Regions from separate parts of the Homo sapiens genome. Here region 1 is linked to region 2. Evidence: promoter capture Hi-C in 16 types of primary human blood cells and fetal thymus (Javierre and others, 2016). All regions are on one chromosome and are shown on one strand. Each heading gives the region's core, a stretch centred on a gene start or on the middle of the fragment in contact. The rest is flanking DNA. Distances are from core to core; before and after follow the strand shown.

Region 1 (3,942 bases), core at 443-2,942, 260 kb after region 2:
GGCTGACTACGCTCCCAGGGGGCGTAAGTGAAGCCAAGCCCCAGGAGGCTGTTAGGCAAGGCAGGAACTTGTATGACCTCAGGGACAGCCAGCTAACCCCTGAATGTTGGCTTTGCACATCTGCTGGGCTTCTCAGAGCAGGAGCCTGGATTGGAAACTGAATGAAGCAAGTTCTGCATGGAGTTGAGGAAAAATATCAGACTCAGCATTTTTTTTATTTTTATTATTTTTTTAAAAGACTTGTCATTTATTTAGCAATGAGGAGGAGAGACCTCACTAGCCAGAGGTTGGATAACCACTACTCCCTAGTTCCTTAACCCAATAAATTAGATTTTTTCCTTCTTTTGAGACAGGGTGTAGCTCTGTGTTGCCCAGGCTGCAGTGCAGTGGCACCATCTCGGCTTGGTGCAGCCTTGACTTCCTGGGCTCAAGCGATCCTCCCAACTCGGTCTCCTGAGTAGCTGGGACTACAGGTGCGTGCCACCATGCCCAGTTCATTTATTTTTTGTTTTTTAGACGGGGTCTCACTATGTTGCTCAGTCTCGAACTCCTGGGCTCAAGCAATCCTCCTGCTTTGGCCTCCCAACGGACAGGGATTACAGGCGTGAGTCACTGTGCCTGACTACACTTTCTTTAGTACAGGATATAACCAACATCTTGCCTCCTAAGAGTCAGGGGCAGGAGTATAGGTGATTGTACTTCAGGTAGAGGAAAGATCTCATTCACAGAGGAGGGGAGAGTAGATTTTGTTGGCATATAGTGGCAAATTTTATTAAGGCTCTGGGAAAAGTGCTGATGACATTGGGAAAAGATTCAGTTTTTACCCAGTAAAATATTAAAAACTTATTTTGCTTAAGGCCATGTCCTCTAATTACTGAAGGGGCTGATTTTTTTTTTTTTTTAAATCATCAGTCATAATAGCACCTATTGAAGGGCTTACTGTATGCCAATTACTGATTAGGACACTTTACAAGCACTTATAGTATTAATTTTTATAGCAACCATATGAGGCAGGTACACTATTGGCCTCATTTTGCAAATGAGACAAACGCATAGAGGTTAAATGCCCAAAGCCACATGGCTACTAAGTGGCTGAGCCTAGATTTCACCCGAGTGCCCACATGTCCAGCTACTCTGCTCTGTTGCCTGCAGGATCACAGTGCAGTGTTGCTCACTGCAGCTGTGCATGAGCAAGGCAGCTGAGTGTGAACAAAGGGGAAATGTAACCTAATTCTTCTAATTCTATGATTTGATGCACAAAGGGCTCCATAATCGTGGGAATTGATTACGACTGCCGGGAGAGGATGGTGTACTGGACAGATGTTGCTGGACGGACAATCAGCCGTGCTGGTCTGGAACTGGGAGCAGAGCCTGAGACGATCGTGAATTCAGGTCAGCAGCTTCACTCAGCAGTCTGCATTTCATTTGATTCTACAAAGTCACTTGTCTACTTTACGCCGAAGTCTCCCCTCGATTTTTCTCCATTAGGGGAGGTTAAGTTCTAGGCAAGTCATTTTATTGAGCTGTATAAGACTAGCCCCCTCTGTAAGCAAACACCTTCATACATACGGAATGAAATAGGTGATTCCTACTGTGCGCACTTCTTAAAAGAATTCATGGTAAGAATTCAGGGTGACGCCTTCGTTTATTCAGCCTGGCTCTGGCACTGTGGATGCCGGTTGTCATCAAACTGGTAGGTCTGCTGGTCTAGAAGCTAGAGGTAGTGGAATATGTAACAAAAGTACTTGTTTCTCTATTAACCTGGTTCTTGGGGACTTGGAGACACTTGGGCTTTGCTTTCCCCTGCTGACCCCCCTGCCCACCCGACCGTTGGAGGGCTTCAGGTTTGCCCTCCATATCCTGCAAACACTCCAGTCCTGACTTTGCTTTATTTCCAGGTCTGATAAGCCCTGAAGGACTTGCCATAGACCACATCCGCAGAACAATGTACTGGACGGACAGTGTCCTGGATAAGATAGAGAGCGCCCTGCTGGATGGCTCTGAGCGCAAGGTCCTCTTCTACACAGATCTGGTGAATCCCCGTGCCATCGCTGTGGATCCAATCCGAGGGTCAGCTGGGCTTCCCTAATTCTTCTCTTACCTGTAGATCCTGATGTGAAGCCCTTGGGTTTTAAATACAATGTGGGGAAGGTCAGAACAAGAGAGTGAAAGCTCAAATGCATTCATGTAACAAAGATTTACTGAGGATCTAAGAGGTGTCAGGACCTGTTCTAGGAAAAGACAAGGTCTGTTCTTTCATGGCACTTATATTTTATTAGGAGGAAACAAGACTGGTATAAACAATATTAGTCTGTGATGTGATATGTAGAAAATTCAGATAGTGTTGTGAGAACTAGGGCTACTCTGAATCAAATGATCAGGCGAGGCCTCAGCTGACACTTAAACTGGAAGTGAAGTGGGATTCCTCCAGCAGCACATTTAGAAACCAGGGTTGACGCTCACAGTAGGGCTGACCTACATCAAGTGACATTAGCCAAAGCTCAGACACCTCTGGCTTCAGTGTTGCTGTAGCAGAAATCAAGATAAACATTTTCCCTGTCTGTATAATTGCTAAGGTCATCAAATGTGACATACAGGATTTGTTCACTGTCTCAGTACTTGTTACAATCAGGGAGAATTTTTATATCTTGAGAAACTCTTGCCATGTTTAAGTGGAGTTTCTACGAAATGAAATTCCCAGATGCCCTTCAAATCAGTAAAGAAAACCTTCAGCTTTAATTTTCAGGTAAGTGCTTTTTGACTATGAAATACTTAGTGCAGTGCCTCAAAGGTGGTTTCAAACTTTGGGTTCTACACACAGGAAAAGTACCTGTATCCTTCTCTATTCCAGTTGACTTAACAGGAATTAATAGCCCTCTTAAAAACTCTTTGCATAGGCTTGCCTTTCTGACATTTGGACATTTGGAAGGTCCTTTTTTCTTTTTTTTTTCTTTTTTTTGAGACAAGGTCTTGCTTTGTTGCCGAGGCTGGGGTGCAGTGGCACAGTCTCGGCTGACTACAACCTCCATCTCCCGGGTTCAAGCAATTCTCCTGCCTCAGCCTCCCAAGTAGCTGGGACTACAGGCATGTGCCACCATGCCCAGCTAATTTTTGTATTTTTAGTCGAGACAGGGTTTCGCCATTTTGGTCTCCAACTCCTGACCCTGGGTGATCCACCTGCCTTGGCCTCCCAAAGTGCTGGGATTATAGGTATGAGCCACTGCGCCCGGCCCCTTATTCCTTCTTGGTGCTTGACCTGAAAACTGGGGAGAGCTGCCATCTTGTAGGCAATGAAACTTTGGCCATGTCTCTGGAGTCTGGGGAAAAAGCATACTTTTAAGCTGAAATCCACATCACAGCCATGAGTTTAAATATGAAAGTAGAACTTTCTTATCCAGACAGCAAATATAAATGCTAAAGGACTTGAATTTTTAATAAAAAGAAAACCCACCTTGAACCAGGTTGCAATATAACACATGTAATTACATCTCCTTCAACTGCGTAACAGAATGGTTGTCAAGCCTTCCTGCATATTTCTCATTTGCTTTCTATAGATTTCACCTTTACAACTTTCTTCCTCTGGCAATCCCCAAATAATTTACACCAAATATCTGTGTGAGCTTGTTTCAGACTTATTGTTGTTGATGATATTAAATCATTTTGGGGAGGAGACTGATCAGAAGCGATGAAGCAATGATATGCATGCTGTACCCTCTGGCCACCTCCACCTTAGCGCAAAGTGGAAACTGCTTTCTAGCTTTTGCTCTCAGCTTCTCTCTGCTTCATCTGTTGGGCATAAGGGATGAAATTCGCAACAGGGGAAACCTATGGTTTCTTCCTCTCCTCTCACTGAGGTTCTCTGTAGCCCAACTGATTTATTCAAAGCTTCTATAGCTTTTATAAAATAGTATTTTATAAAAAGTGCTTTCAACATTATTTCTG
Region 2 (3,715 bases), core at 855-3,354:
TGTTTATTTATTTTGGGGGCATACTGTTCCCACCCCTGCATGCTGATGCCCCAGACTTCTTTTTCCGCAAGCAGTAAGGCCTTCATTTAAAGGAAAATCGCTTTGTATTTCCCTTTCATTCACCATTGAAAGTAATATCCAAAATGGCTACATTCTGAGAAGAAATTTAACAACTTTCCTATTCACAGAAGTCTCAGGATTTCGAGAACGTGGGATTGGCAATGGAATTTCTGTAAGTATTGTTTTTGTTGAACAGGTACCTTGGGAGAAAGGAGAGGAGCAGCACTGAAAATGTTTCCTCAAGCCTCACCTACTCCCAGGTGTCTTGGCGGGGACTCCAGGAACAAATGCCTTCAAAATGAGGAGATAATTTCATTTCCATCGCTATCCTCATTACCAAATTGAAACCGGAGATAATGGCTTTCATGTCACCTCACTTGCCAAGATACACTCAAAACCCGTCAAGTCAGGTTGTCAAAACGACACCAGCAGCTAAAACATACAAAGAGCCTCGGCCTCCATCGCCACAATCCCTGGCGGATGCAGCACCAGAAACAGCAGCCGTGGCGTCTCAAAGTTTACGCACGCGTTTTTCAAAATTAAAACTATGCATCTGCAAATCACTCTGGCTGGCTTAAACCTCTTTTTCCCTTTCTATGCCAACACCGGGGAGAAGATCGTCCCAGACGCCATTCGCCCATTTCTGATACCACTGAAGTCATGAGCAGGTCTAACAAAATAAAACATCACCCAGCCGTCGGGAAGTAGAAGACTCCTGTTGCCAAGGAGAAACTAAGTTCTGCTCCTCCTAAGGCGCAAAAATGACCTCGAGATCTCCCCAGAAGGAAGCAGAGAGGAGGGAGTTCTGCCACATGGAGAGGGTTTTGCTGGGCTAGGGAGACACCGCCGGGCTCAGCCTTTCCCTTCCTTTCTCTAACTTTCCCTCATTTCGCTCCGCAAACTGAGTTATATCTCGGGGCTGTGGAAGGAATCCAATTTGGGGAACTCAGCAGCAAACCTTCCTGGCCCAGGGCGCAGCTCGCCTGGCGCCGCGTCCATCCCGATCCGCTCCACCCTTCCCGCCCCGCATCCGCGGCCGGACAGTCTCAGTGCCCTGCTGCCTCGGGGCCCGGGGACTCACAATTACGGGCAGAGAACACATAGTGAAGAGCACGGTCATCAGCGCCAGCAGCAGGAGGTGATCCAGCTCCTCCAGGGGCTGAGGGGACGCTTCCCTCCCGTCCGCGCGCGGCTCGGCACAGTCCCTGGTGCAGGAGCGCGGGTGCCGCTGCAGCCGCCGGTGCATCGCATAGAGGTTGCGCATGGCGCCGAGGTTGCACAGCACGGTGGCGAGGACCAGCAGCGCCATGAGGCTGGAGTAGAGCACAGAGTACCCCAGCACCGACAGCGAGCCCTCCTCGTGGACCATCTGGATAAAGCACCAGGTGCCGGGGCAGTACTGCACGAACTTCCCGAAGCCCATGAAAGGTAGCGCGCAGAAAGCCAGGGAGAAGGCGCTCACCACCGGGGCCACCAGTGCGCCCAGGCGCAGGGTGATGTGCCGTCGGTAGAAGAAAGGGTGCCCTAGGGAGAGCCAGCACTCCAGTGCCATGGCCAGGAGTTGCAGTGTCGAGGAGAGCCCAAAGAAGGACATGAAGAAGGCGAAGGCTTGGCACAACGAGTTGTCCAATGCGGGCGCAAGCACCCGCAGACTCCGGTTCTGAGCGTAGGCAGCCAGCACCACCGGGCTTAGGAGGCACTTGCCCAGCAAGTCGGTGACCGTCAGGCCACACACCAGCATGTAGAAGACCGAGGGCAGCGGGCGCAGTGGACGCCGCGAGCACCACCCCAGCCCCGAGCGCGCCAGCAGCCCCAGGGCCAGCAGGTTGCCCAGGAGGCCGGTGCTGAAGAGCACCCCGCCCATCACCGCCGAGTTGCCTTTTTCCACAGAGGTGGTGTTCTGGCAGCGGTAGAACGGCGACTTCATGGCGTGCGGGAGCAGAGGGCTGGAGTGAAGGCTGCGGAAGGGCGAGGGCCCCGGCGCCCGGGTGCTAAGGAGCCCCCGGCAGCTCCGCGCGCGGCTCGGGCGGAGAAGCTGCGCCACAGAAAAAGCTCCGAGGGCGGCGGGGTGTTCCCCACGGCAGGAACCTCCTATCTAAACTCGCGGGTCACACCCCTCTTTGAGAGGCGGGACGCTCTGCAGGGTGAGCGCCTGGCGCTGGCATTGAAGAGCGCGGAGCAGGCCAGTGAAGAGCTCGGCCCTGACGCGCTGCGTTCTCAGTAGAGACAGACTCTGGTGCCGAGTCGGAACGGCAGGAGGAAAATAGCCAGAATTCCAAGCACCCAACACCAGTCCTTCTAGCGAGGCAAGAGAAGAACTACTAAAGTGGAGGGGAAATTAAGCAGCAGCCACCTGAGAGGAGGGCAATGGTGCTGGTGTTTGAACTGGGGTGGCCAAGAACTCGAAAGATGAGCGAAGAGGGGAGGCTGAGAAAGGGCTTCTACCTAGTTGTCTTGAATTAGCTAGTCAAGGAAAGGTAAAGATAACTCACGTCTGGAAAGCCCCTGAGCCTTAGCTCCTCTTCTCTACTAGATCAGCGCAATTTGGGGCATTCACGGTCATCTCCATTGCATAGGCGAGGAAACTGAGGCCTTGGAAAGTTAAGTGATCTGCCCGTGGTGACAGAGCTACAGAAGTAGCAGAGCCGGACCTCTCACCCGATCTTCTATTTTGGAGTTCATCTGTCCTGTTCCCATGACTCCTCCTCCCAAGAAGTTGTCCAGATTTCAGGGAAGTGGTTTGTGGGAAAGCCAAGAGCCGGTGTTGGTCCTGGGTGCCATGAATCACATTGACTGTAGAGAGCTGGGGGGAAGGGCATGGTTAGCAGCACTGTTGCTGTCATCAGATAGGCCTGGGTTTGAGTCCAGGTTCTGCTCCTCACTGTGTGTGTGACCTTATGGGACTTGCTTAGCCTCTCAAGCAGTAACATCTATCTGGCCTGCTTGGCTCTTCTGAGGCATAGAAATAACACGTAAAGAGCAAGTACATAGAAAGTGCTCAATTCATGCAATCACCATGATTCTTATTTGATAGAAGGGTGTTTTGGTAGCTGATGTTTAACTGCAGTTTTTAGCATGGATTTTGAAATCAGAAAATGGTAGATTTGGCATAGAGCTTTCTCACTCCTCTGATTTGTGGCTACTAGAAAAAATTTATTCCTGTTTGGGCTTTGACTTGGCTGCATCATAAAGGCAAGGGAGTTAATTGTGATAAGCGTGATTTTATATCTTTAACTAGCATTCGATGCCCTGTGAGAGAAATTGGCTTTGAGTGTGGAATCTCAGTGGGATGACTAAGGTTTTGTTATGTAAGTGAGTAGATGATGCCTGGGCTTGAAACGGCTCATTTTTAGGCCTCATGCCAGTTCTGATGGACAGACTCAGGGAAAGAGCAAGACCCTTGGGATTTAGATGTGAAAGCCTGAAGGGTAGACAGAGAGGCTGCCTCCAGACTGAAAGTCTGGCCAGTAATTCAGGCCACAGGGTGGAAAAGAAGAATCTAAGCTTGGAATTAGATAGTTCTGAACTCCACCACTGGCTGTGTGACCCTGGGTTAGTTGTTCAACCTAATGGAATATGAGACTTATGCTGAACTTGTGGGGTTGTTGTGAGGTTGAGAAAACTTGAAGTGCTTTGGCATAGTGTAATAATAATA

The links. Contacts are between HindIII fragments. The CHiCAGO score rates a contact against its expected background, and 5 or more counts as called.
Region 1: a fragment that was not itself captured here is called in contact with the fragment with the promoter of PTGDR in region 2 in 2 of 17 cell types (megakaryocytes and naive CD8 T cells); the score reaches 6.6 in megakaryocytes.

The regions. Positions count from the first base shown.
Region 1 is chr14:52,009,004-52,012,945 of GRCh38, reverse strand. It overlaps RTRAF (RNA transcription, translation and transport factor), which reads right to left. Exons shown (of 8, transcript NM_016039.3): 8 at 2,252-3,942. It overlaps NID2 (nidogen 2), which reads left to right. Exons shown (of 22, transcript NM_007361.4): 17 at 1,263-1,392; 18 at 1,899-2,070. Among named protein-coding and RNA genes, the nearest start is that of RTRAF, 21 kb to the right of the region's middle. The HindIII fragment of the contact is 4,390 bases long and covers 1-3,887 here.
Region 2 is chr14:52,266,087-52,269,801 of GRCh38, reverse strand. PTGDR (prostaglandin D2 receptor) reads right to left here and starts at 2,104. Exons shown (of 2, transcript NM_000953.3): 1 at 1,142-2,104. The coding sequence starts at 1,987. The HindIII fragment of the contact is 7,987 bases long and covers 1-3,566 here.